4 separate regions of the Homo sapiens genome follow, and regions 1, 2 and 4 are each linked to region 3. Evidence: promoter capture Hi-C in 16 types of primary human blood cells and fetal thymus (Javierre and others, 2016). All regions are on one chromosome and are shown on one strand. The core of a region is centred on a gene start or on the middle of the fragment in contact, and the rest is flanking DNA. Distances in the headings are between cores, read along the strand shown.

Region 1 (2,753 bases), core at 172-2,671, 330 kb before region 3:
CCACTCTCTACTCCATTCTTCCCACCTCATCCTTTGAAGACAAACAACTTCATTATTTTCTGGTTTATCTTCCCTATAGTTTTTTTGGTAAAAGTTGACAGAAACATGTATTTCTTATGTTTACCTCATTTCTTACATAAGATGTAATATGCTATATATGCTGTATTATACTTTTTTGTTGTATTTGATATTTTCTATAAGTCATGCCATATATGTATGTATTATAATCACAATAGAGTAATATGTAGCTATAAGTCATGCCATTTACTATGTCATATGTATATGAACATATATGACATAGAGTTACATATTACTCTATAGAGGCTATTATTATATATATATATTTACAGCTGCATATTATTCAATAGTGGCTATAGCATAATAACCATGGTTTATTCAATCACCTATGGTTTGACATTTAGGTAGTTTTTAGTTGTTTTGTAATTATAAATAGTACTGCAAGGAATAACTCTGTGCAAATGTGTTTTTGTATTGTTGGAGGTGGATTTTCAGGGTAAATTTCTGGGAGCAGAATTATGGGTCAGATAATGTGAAATCAGTTTTAATGATGAGAAATTGAAGGTGCCTATAAGATGATATCCTACTGGGCAGAGCAAATTGGATAGATTCATTCTTTCATTAAAAGCACTGATTAACTACCATGTGCCCCAGGCACTCTACTAAGCTCTGGGGATGTATACAATAGTGCACAAAAATGGACAAAATGCTCAGCCTCAGGCATTTAACAATCATATATACACATACATATATATGGAGATATATATATATATATCTCCACAGTGCAGAATGAAGGAGTCTTAGATATGGAGTTGGGATTCACAATTTTTGGGTTTTGACTAAATCGGGAATAATGCTCTTCTCTAAGCCAGATTTACTTTTCTCTTTTAAAATGAGCAATAAGGATGGATATTTCAGGGCATAAAGAAGCAAAGAATAGTCATACAGTTTTTCTATTCTCCTTTTATTCTCTTCTTGAAACAATATCAAACATCATTTAAATTACACTCACACTAATTCTAGACATCTGTGCTATTTTTTTCAGAGTCTAAAACACAGAGGTCGGGTGACTGTAATTTGGGGAAGGTGGCCACATTTCTACCACATAACAGCATTTTTAAAGAGGTGTGAGAAGAGGTGTGTTTATTCCTATTACCTTCTGTGGCTTAGACATTTTTTTCGGTAATGAGATATACATTCCAAATACCATTACTTTATTTGAAGAAGGACCCTATCTGACTTTTTAATTCAATGGGCAGAACTCGATCTGATTTTTTAATGTTGATATTAGAGATTAAACATGCATTACACTATCAATTCATTAAACATTTTAAACTTTTCTTGTGTGAAAGCTGCACACTGATCTTATTGTGGCTCACTTCAGTAAAAAATGATACTCATGTTTAATACCATTTTCCCCCAAGTAAATTGGAAGAAAAAGTCTATACTTATGTGGAGATATAAGATCTCTTTAGTCATTGAAATAGGAACTTGACCAAGGATTTCCCAGAACAGCTATATAATGCCTACATCTTAATCTCTTAGATCCTTTAAATCTGTTCAGTTACATGACAAAGATGGCCAAAGATTGCAGAGGGAATTAAGATTGCTAATAGGTGGATTTTAAAATAGTTGGATATCCCGGATTATATGCATATAATATATCAAATTATTTTTATTGCTGTAGCATTGTAGGAAGTAAATATCAGATAAGGCTTGCCCCAATATTAAGTAGGTTAGCTGTCAGTTTTTTTGATATTGCTTGTTAGCATAAGTAAATTTCTTACTATTTCTAGATTGCTAAGAGTTTTTATCATGAATAGTGTTGAATTTTATCATATACTTTTTCTGCATGTACTGAAAGTGATTGTTTTTTTCCTTTCTGTAAATAAACATGGTGAATTTCATTAATTGATTCTTGAATGTTAAACCAACATAATAGTCCTGAGACAAATCCTTCTTTGTCATGGTACCCTTCTATATATCGTTGGGTTCAATTCACTAATGTTTTCTTAAAGTATTTTTGTCTGTAGTTTATAGAGTTTATATGTACATATACATATATATGTGTGTGTATATATATATGTGTGTGTGTGTGTCTTTTATATTATCTTTATCATGTTTTGATATTAGGGTTTGCGTTTCTCATAAAATGTGTTGGGAAGTGATCCCTTTGCATCTATGTATTTAAAAAATCTGTGTAACACTGCCATTATTTCTTCCTTAAGTATTTGATAGAACAAATGAGTGAAACTGTTAAGTGAAGGGACTTTTTTATTGGATGGGAAGAGTTATTTAATATACATAGAGCTATTCAGATTTTCTGTTACTTCTCATGTAATTGTAAATTGCTTTATCAAGAAATTTGTCCATAATACACTGGACTTTAGAAATCAATTAAGTGGTGAATTATGTGCGTAATTTTCACATAACTGCTTTTCCTTGTGATTATTTAAATACTTAAATGTATAAATATATATTCCAATAAATATATAAATATATAGAAATATTTATTTAAATTTATATTTCTATATTCCAGTATATAAATATATATGTACTTCAATATATAAAGTATATACCTAAGTGTGTGTGTGTATATATATATATATATATACACACACACACCCTATTACTTTACTGTTACTTTATTATAAAGTAATAGAAAGGTTGAGAAATGTGGCATCTTTTACTGTTGTTATTGTGATCAGTAAATCTACTTTCCATTGCCAAGGTTG
Region 2 (3,039 bases), core at 215-2,714, 290 kb before region 3:
CAATGAACAAACTTGTGTATGTGTCTTTATGGCAGAACAATTTATATTCCTTTGGATTTATACCGATTACTGGGATTGCTGGGTCGAATTGTAGTTCTGTTTTTAGCTCTTTAAGGAATTGCCACACTGCTTTCTATAACGGTTGAACTAATTTACAGTCACAAAAATAACGTATAAGCATTCCTTTTTATCAACAACCAGTATCTGTTATTCTTTGACTTTTTGATAATAGCTATTCTGACTGGTGGTGATGATATCTCATTGTGGTTTCTATTCGCAGTTTTCTAATGACTAGTGATGTTTATCTTCTTTTCATATGCTTGTTGGCTTCATGTATGTCTTCTTTTGAAAAGTGTCTGTTCACGTACTTTGCCCACTTTTTAACGGCCTTGCATGATTTTTGCTTGTTAACTTGTTTAAGCTCCTTACAGATTCTGGTTATTAAGCCTCTGTCAGATGAAGAGTTTGTAAATATTTTCTCCCACTCTGTAGGTTGTCTGTTTACTCTGTTAATAGTTTCTTTTCCTGTGCAGAAGCTCTTAAGTTTAATTAGGTTCCATTTGTCAAGTTCAGCTTGTGCTACAATTGCTTTTGATATCTTTATCATGAAATCTTTGTCAGATCCTATGTCAAGAATGAAATTTCCTAGTTTATCTTAAAGAGTTTTCATAGTTTTGGGTTTAACATTTAAGTCTTCCATTAATCTTGGTTGATTTTTTTATGTAGTATAAGAAAGAGGTCCAGTTTCAATCTTCTGCATATGGCTAGGTAGTTATCCCAGGACCATCTATTGAATAAGATGTTCCTTCCCCATTGCTTGTTTTTCAGCTTTGTTGAAGATCAGATGGTCATAGGTATACAGCCTTATTTTTAGCCTCTCTATTCTGTTCCATTGTGCATGTTTTTGTACGAGTACCATGCTATTTTGTTTACCGTAGCTCTTTAGTACAGTTTGAAGTCTGGTGATGTGATGCCTCCAGCTTCGTTCTTTTTGTTTAGGATTGCCTTGGCTATTCAGTCTCCTTTTTGGTTTCATATAATTTTAAATATTTTTTTTCTAGTTTTGTGAAGAATGTCATTGGTAGTTTAATAGGAATAGCATTGAATCTGTAAATTTGGGCAGCATGGCAATTTAACAGTATTAATTCTTCCTATTCATGAGCATGGAATGTTTTTCCATTTGTTTGTGTCCTCTGATTTGTTGAGCAGTGTTTTGTAATTCTCATTGTATCGGTTTTCACCTCCCTGGTTATCTCTATTCTTAGGTATTTTATTCTTTTTGTGGCAATTTTAAATGAGATTGTATTCCTGACTCGGCTGTCGGTTTGGCTGTAATTGGTATACAGGAACGCTAGTGATTTTTGTACAATGATTTTGTATCCTGAAACTTTGCTGATGTTGTTTATCAGCTCTAAGAGCTGTGGGGCTGAGACTTTACGGTTTTCTAGGTATAGGATGATGTTGTCTGCAAACAGACATACGTTGGCTTCTTCTCTTCCTATTTAGAATGACTTTTTTTCTTTCTCTTGCCTGATTCCTCTGGCCAGGACTTGCAATACTATGGTGAATAGGAATAGTGAGAGATGGCATCCATGTCTTGGGCTGGTTTTCAAAGGGAATGCTTATAGCTTTTGCACATGAAGTATGATGTTTGCTGTGAGTTTTTCATAGATGACTCTTATTATTTCCAGGTATGCTCCTTCAATACCTAGTTTATTGAAATGTTTTAAACATAAAAATATGTTGAATTTTATTGAAAGTCTTTCTTGCATCTATCAAAATAATCATGTGGTTTTTGTTTTCAGTTCTACTTATATGATGAATCACGTTTATTGATTTGTGTGTGTTGAACCAACCTTGCTTTTAGAGATAAAGCCTACTGATTCTGCTGGATTAGCTTTTTGATGTGCTGGTCAATTCTGTTTGCTAGTATTTTTGTTGAGGATTTCTGCAACTATATTCATCAAAAATATTGACCTGAAGTTTTCTTTTGTGTGTGTGTGTGTGTGTGTGTGTGTGTGTGTGTGTGTTTGTCTGTCTATCTGTCAGGCTTTGGTATTAGGATGATGCTGGTCTCATAGAATGAGTTGGAGAAGAGTCCCTCCTCCTCAAATTTTTGGAATAGTTTTAGTGGGAATGGTATCAGCTTTTCTTTGTAAATTTTGTAGAATTTGGGTGTGAATCCATCTGGTCCTGAGATTTTTTGGTTGGTAAGCTATTTATTACTGATTCAATTTCGGAGTTTGTTATTGGTTTGTTCAGAAATTCAACTTTTCCTGTTTAAGTCTAGGTAAGGTGTTCAAGAATTTATCAATTTCTTCTAGATTTTCTAATTTGTGTCCAGAGAAATGTTTCTCTGGCGTTAGTGATATCATCCCCTTTGCTGTTTCTAATTGTGCAACCTAGAATTTTCTATTAAGCTCATCTTTTATTCAAAAGTAGAAATAAAATAAATACATGTATAGGCAAAACATGATTAAGAGTTTCATAGATGTGAGTAGTTTAAGGGAAAAATTATTAAAGGATACATTTCAATAAGAAATAAAATGAATCCAGAAGAACAGAGTGGAAAGCAGGAAGAAATGATTAAAAAATTAATTGATAAACCATGTTGTTTAATACAAATAAGTTTAGAAGAAGAAGGAAGAATAAACAGTTGGGAGAGAAGGCAAAATATATTTCTGTACTGGCTTTGAAATTTTTCAGAAAACTTTGAAAGTAAATAAGTCTGTTTTGTATTTAAGGCTGATCAATAAGGTTAAAAATAGAATGTATAACTTAATTATGAGTAATGGGGAAAAGGAGGAGCTTATGAATTCAACAAAAGGTAAAAAGAAAACAATGTATCAAAGGCAGCATGGAATACAAACAAAATTGCAAAAGGATGAAATACACATTAATATTAATATTCACAATAAGGAAGATAATAAACTTGTCTTTTATAAGAAACTCTGAAATTGAAATTGTAAAAATATAACTCTATTAAAAATTCACCCATTGTAAAACAATACAAAGTGGCTGAAAATAAAAGGATGAAAA
Region 3 (2,974 bases), core at 126-2,625:
AATGTCAGAGAAAAATATAAACTGGGCAGGCATCTCTGCTGGTGTGTAGTTTCTGATAGAGGACGCCTCCAAACCGGAACAGGGAGGATTTCCGAAACAGGACTTTGAATAGAGTTGACAATCAGGTTCACATCCTCAGAAAAAGCCTTCCAAGCTATGTCAGCAACACAAAGTTGCACCACCTCCTGGGTAAACTTCAAAGACACAGAGGCCAGCGGGTGGAAGGAAGTGTGATATTTAGAGAACTTAGTGGGGCGGGGGAGAGTCTGAACTCATCTAGACAAACTAAAAAAAATAGCAGAAATATAGTCTGTGTGAAGCTACAGTACCCAGTTTCTTTCTAAAACTGTAACCATGACGCCCATGCGTTTTAGCCGTAGAAGAACAAATAAGGAAGTATCCTTAGTGGTACTGGAGTTTCTAATTCAAATTATAACACATTAATCTATCCAACGTCAAATAGAAAAAAAAAAAGTAGAGAAACAGAGTATACCTATTTCCTGCTTTCTAAGCTTTAACTTCAGCCCTTCGAGAAACCATCTATCTCCAGTATCTCCTTAGGTGATAGGACATTGAAAACAGGCAACCGTTTGGTGAATAAAGACATTTCTCTTGAGTTCTGCCCACAGATTAAAAGGACAAGGACACACGTTCTTTGTTGACACTTCTGCAGTGACTTCTCCTTTGGCGAGAGAGCACCCAGGGCCAACACAACTGTCACCACAACCACACAGAGCAAGTTGAACTCATACTGGGAACAGCTTAGAGAAGCACGCACATCTCAACAACAGCCTTTGTTATTTAATTCATGACACTAACCACGCGCAAGCTCAAACAAACACACATGCTATCCTAACCATCACTCTACCCTCTATATTCACATTTCATTTATGGCTTGACTTTTTGTCATATCCTGAAATGAAGCTTTGCATTTACCCGATGAGTTGCGTCTCCTGGTGCTCCTCAGTTCTTGCTATTTCTTTTGTCTTATAAAAGATCAGGAGCAGACTTATTGTGCAGATCGTCCACCTCTTCCTAATGGAGCGCATCTTGGGTGCCCGAGAAAGTCCTGGTTGCCCCAGCTCCCGCACCTTCTCTTGATATAAAGGCTCCGTTTTGGGGAGATAGTCGCGGGGGTGAAATCTGTAAAATGCGAGGAGAGCTTGGAGCCGGGATCCCGGGATCAGATCACTGGGGTCTTCTGTGGCCGAGCTCCCTCTGGTCCTCGAACGCTGCCCAGCGACCTCTCGCCCTGTTTGCGCCAGCTCTGCCAGGGTCGCTCCGCGCCGCCTCCCTGGGGCTCAGGTTTCTTTTCAGATGAGACACCTTGTGCATTGGAGGTGGCGGCAGCTTCTGCAGCTGGGTTCGGGGGCGTCACTGGCCCTTCCCTCTTGCTAGGAGATAAACGCTGCGCAAAGCCAATCACCAGGCTGAGGGGGCGGAGGCTGCTTGGAGAGTAACGTCCCCGGCTCTGCCTGCTCTGTGCCGGGAGAGGAAGCTCACAGTGCTACGCGCCTGCGAGCTCGCGCACATACACATATACATACATACACACATACATACATATGCACACACACGTACACGCAGAATCACACACACTCTCCTGGGACATCAAAGCATCAGCTCTCTGGACCTGGGAGCTCCAAGATAGTCTATCCGCATCTAGGTGAGAGGGCACCTCGCCTGGGGACAGATTACAAAAGCGTCCCGCCAGAGGAATGCTTCAGGTAGAGCTAGGGGTGGATTGCAAGAAGAGTACCTTCTTTCAATCGCTTTTGCTAAACACACACCCTCACACGCAAAAACACGCCCTCCAAGGTGGAGTGAAACGGGGTGCGGGGGTGGGGACGGCGGTGGAAGGAAGAAGACTTTTATTACTCAATCTGGAAAGTGCAAATACACACATGAACCTGTTAGCCGATGGGCCCACTCTGCATGGGTGGTGGACGACGACCCTGGCTCAGGATTCTGCAGGAAACAAGTGATGATAGAGGTGTCATTAGGAACTTTATGGATATTTATGCGCCTCCCTTTCATTGCCATTTGGAAACTCCTCACGCAGAAGTCAAGGAAACTCCAATCCCACTTAAACTTCATTGCGGAGAAACAGAGTTCTGAAAAAAAAGCAGCTACCATGGACCTCTCTTTTAAACGCAAGTACACCCACACACATTCGGATACCAAGGAAGGAAGGAAAGAAAGAAAGGAAAGAAAAGGGAGGGGAGGAAGGAAGAGCAAAGTCCTCTCTAAAAGTCTCAATTATATATATAGCCTCTGATTGTCACCTCTCCTCCGTCCCACCATTTTTCGTACTTGTATTGGGTGGCAGGGACACTTTTCAAGAGTTCTGTGTTCGATTGTTCACTCTGAGTACCTCTCCACCATCCTCCAGTCGTTGCCCTCATTGGGAGAGATGCTTGCTACTCTGCTAGTACCACGCCTTGGTTCCGGTCTTTACTGTTGGCTGGTAGGTCGGGAGGCACCTCTAGCATGAGACAGTGTCTGGAAGCCAGGATTTCCCTCATCTATATGCGCCGGTCCCCAGCTCCCTGGTCGCCAGGGTTTCTCTCCAGTTGAATTCCGTGTTCCTTCAGGTTGAACAGTAGCTTCAGCGGTTTTTCACGCTCAGAAATGATGAGGCCCAATTCCAATCTTCCCTCCCGCCGGAAGTAAGAAGGGGAATTCTGAGTTGCTTGTCGCCTGACAGCTTAAAATAGCAACGAAAACAGCCAGCATCTTTGCTTAAAAACCCAAGGTTCCCGCCAGTGTTTACCATACTTCCTCTAGAGTTTAAGAAGTTAAGAACTTCCGAGATCTTGAATTTCCTCTTTGCAGCACAGCGAACGGGGTCGGGTATAAAAATGCTCCAAGGAGCAAGTAATTACGAACGTTTATTGACACTACAAGTGGCCCACAGGGAGCCTTTCGAGTTTATTGATGTCTAGGCAAATCCAGCCTGCATTAATGCATTTCT
Region 4 (2,912 bases), core at 119-2,618, 350 kb before region 3:
ATTTAGGATTTACTTTACCTGGGGGTGTCTGCCAACATGCCTTCAACAGGAGACAAACATAATCACAGGAAGTGATTGTATGTACTGAATTACAAGGAGTTGGGAGAGAAAAGGTATCTATCAAGGAAAACAAGGTTGCAGTGTCCTGAACATACATGAACACGCTTTTGATTTTTTTTTTTTTTTTGACCTTTGGGTGTTAGCAGTAAACACTTCATTAGAATTCAGCAGTAGCAGTATACCTCGTTGAAGGAACTTTCTAGTTAAGGATGCACGTGGTCGAGATTGTGGTAGGGGCAGAGCTGGATAACTGTCAAGCTAATAGAGAGGGTTTTTTTAAAAATATGAAAAAATGCTAAAGGAATTCAAAACTACAATAATCTGCGAACTTCAACATGGAGTCATATACATTTTAATAGCTCCTGAGAGTTTATATCAAAGTCACTAATTATAATGATCCTGAGAGGTTAAAAAGAGACTTTTAAAATATCTCATTTTCTTCTGTATAGGATGGCAGGAATATCTTTAGCATTGAATACAGTTCTATATAGAATGCTGAGAAGTTAAAAGTAGTACAAAAAGCCAGTTTGGCTTTTGAAAGGATAAACTTCAGTTATTCATAGTGTATATGAGGAAAACTGTGTTTTTAGAATATGGTAAATTTGCATACCAAAAGGACAAAAATAAAACTCAGCATAGGATACAAACTAAATATTAGGGATTCTAGTTGGGTTAGAGTATGACAGTTGCCTGGATCATGCCTAAAACATCCTAAATGAAATCTTAGAGCTCCTGATGTGAGTACATGTTTAATATATTTAAATATTCCAGTACTTTATTTTTTTGTCCTGAGTCAGAAAGCTGTTGCCTCCAGAGGTCCATATTACGATTTTAAATTTGGCTAGCTCCCTTAGATTTTGTTGTGGTATGTATCTGGAAATGATGTTCTTTCAGGCTTGTTTTATTCCAAGGGTGATAATTTATATATAAAAATTTAGATATCTTTCTTATACAGAGAAAATGGAAGATATATTGCCAATCTATATATTTTACTCAATTAATTTGTTTAGCAATATTTATCAGGCATCAACTTTATGACAGAAGTTGTGTGCTGTGGCTACTGTGGTGAGTAAGAACAGATACAGCTCCTGCTCTCATGGAATCAAATGTCTGGTAGGGATGACAAATAGTTACTTAAATAAGTATACAAGTGAACTTTTCATAAGCACTTTAAAGGACATGTATATAGTTTCAGTGGAAGCCAATAGTAGAGGTTTGTGACCTAGTTAGGTAGAACAGAAAAGGGTTTCCTGAGGAAGTTATATTTAAGCTGACAGCTGAAAGATGAGCAGGCATTCACACAGCAGTATTGTGGTAGGTGAGAGAAGACTGTGAGGCCAATGGCAGAGAAAGCATGGCCATCATGAGGAACTGAGAGAAGGCTGTGCGGCTGGAGTTCAGAACCTGGAGTGGAATGTGGAGCAAAGAACAAGATGAGGCTAAAAATGAAAGATGAGCCATCCTGTGCTCATCTTTGTAGGCCATATATTATAGACTGATTACTTAATGTTGAGTAATAGGAAACCATTGAAGGTTTTAGAGAATGAAGGGAAGGTTAATGGATAGCCGGAGTAGGCAGAGATAGTGAATTAGGAAGCTATTTTAGTCAGCAGAGGAAGAGATGATAGGATAGCAGTGGTATGGTAAGCAATATAAATGAATTTAAATTATTTTTAGGAAGTACAATCAATAATACCTTGTGATTGTGGCAGCCATGGAGATACACTAATCAGACCTCCATTCAAGAGAACATGCTACGGGAAGCAAAGTGGCTTGACATCTTCCTGCTGTCACAGATTTGGGTCCATCACAGCATTCATGCCAGGACAATAACCCCTAAACTTGTCCCTAGCCGATGACTGAGTGGAGCAGAGCCTGGCCATCCTGACTAACAGGGAACTCCGCTAATGGGCAGCCTTTGCTTACAGGCATGCCACTGGCCTGGTGAAGACTCTTCCAGAACTGCACTGCAAGCTACAGCTCTTTCTAGCTGGTCATCCTTCCTTTCCACTCTTTCACAGGTGTCAGATCTCTATTACCCTTTGTAAGATCTCCTTAATTTCCCTTTCCTCTCTCTCTTTATCCTTCACAGGCCCTTCCCTAACAATTCTCTTGTATTCTATATTAATTTGTTAGAGCTGTTGCAAAAAAGTACAAGTGGGCTGGCTTAAACAACAGAAATTTATTGTCTCACAGTTCTGGAGGCTAGAAATCCAAAATCAAGATACTGGCAGGGCTGGTTCCTTCTGAGGTCTGTGAGGGAAGGATCTGTTCTGGGCCTCTCTTGATCTTTTTAATGATGTTTTCATGTTCACATGGCGTTCTGCCTGTGTGCGTGTCTGTCTCCAAAATTTCCCTGTTTATAAGGACATCAGTCACATTGGATGAGGGCCTACCTTAATGATCTCATTTTAACTTGATTACCTCTATAAAGACCTTATTTCTAAATAAGGCCACATTTTGCAGTACCGGGGATTAGGACTTCAACATATGAATTTTTGGAAGACGCAGTTCAACCTGTAACATGCAGACATATCCCTTATTAGTATCTGATTCTTGAAGAAGTGGAAGTGACAACTGATGGATTGGGTTGTGGAAATGGGGAATAAAGATGAGAATGATGTCAGATTGGTCAAAAGAATTTTTACTATGTGTCATATATTCAATTGGGTTGGACTTCCTGATGAAAAGTATAGACAACTACAATTGTGGTTCACTAATTTTTATTCATTTATGTTTCAGCAGTAAAGAAATTTTCACATTTATTCTTGGTCACTAGTTTACTTTTTTCTAAGAATAGTCAAGAAAAAAATTTTATTTTAGTTATAGATTATTATTCACTGTTTCATTGT

What was found. Contacts are between HindIII fragments. The CHiCAGO score rates a contact against its expected background, and 5 or more counts as called.
Region 1: a fragment that was not itself captured here is called in contact with the fragment with the promoter of ST8SIA4 in region 3 in 1 of 17 cell types (neutrophils); the score reaches 5.8 in neutrophils.
Region 2: a fragment that was not itself captured here is called in contact with the fragment with the promoter of ST8SIA4 in region 3 in 2 of 17 cell types (activated CD4 T cells and neutrophils); the score reaches 6.3 in activated CD4 T cells.
Region 4: a contact is called between a fragment that was not itself captured here and the fragment with the promoter of ST8SIA4 in region 3, in 2 of 17 cell types (neutrophils and naive CD4 T cells). The highest score is 6.1, in neutrophils.

What each region holds. Positions count from the first base shown.
Region 1 is chr5:100,569,061-100,571,813 of GRCh38, forward strand. All of the region lies in intron 2 of FAM174A (family with sequence similarity 174 member A), which reads left to right. Among named protein-coding and RNA genes, the nearest start is that of FAM174A, 35 kb to the left of the region's middle. The HindIII fragment of the contact is 8,247 bases long and covers 1-2,753 here.
Region 2 is chr5:100,609,537-100,612,575 of GRCh38, forward strand. No RefSeq gene overlaps it. Among named protein-coding and RNA genes, the nearest start is that of FAM174A, 76 kb to the left of the region's middle. The HindIII fragment of the contact is 4,982 bases long and covers 1-3,039 here.
Region 3 is chr5:100,901,907-100,904,880 of GRCh38, forward strand. It overlaps ST8SIA4 (ST8 alpha-N-acetyl-neuraminide alpha-2,8-sialyltransferase 4), which reads right to left and starts at 1,376. Exons shown (of 5, transcript NM_005668.6): 1 at 937-1,376. The coding sequence starts at 1,049. LOC107986437 (a long non-coding RNA gene) reads left to right here and starts at 1,502. Exons shown (of 2, transcript XR_001742825.3): 1 at 1,502-2,974. RefSeq lists enhancers at 464-1,033, 1,519-1,758, 2,539-2,778. The HindIII fragment of the contact is 2,860 bases long and covers 923-2,974 here.
Region 4 is chr5:100,549,437-100,552,348 of GRCh38, forward strand. All of the region lies in intron 1 of FAM174A (family with sequence similarity 174 member A), which reads left to right. Among named protein-coding and RNA genes, the nearest start is that of FAM174A, 16 kb to the left of the region's middle. The HindIII fragment of the contact is 3,737 bases long and covers 1-2,912 here.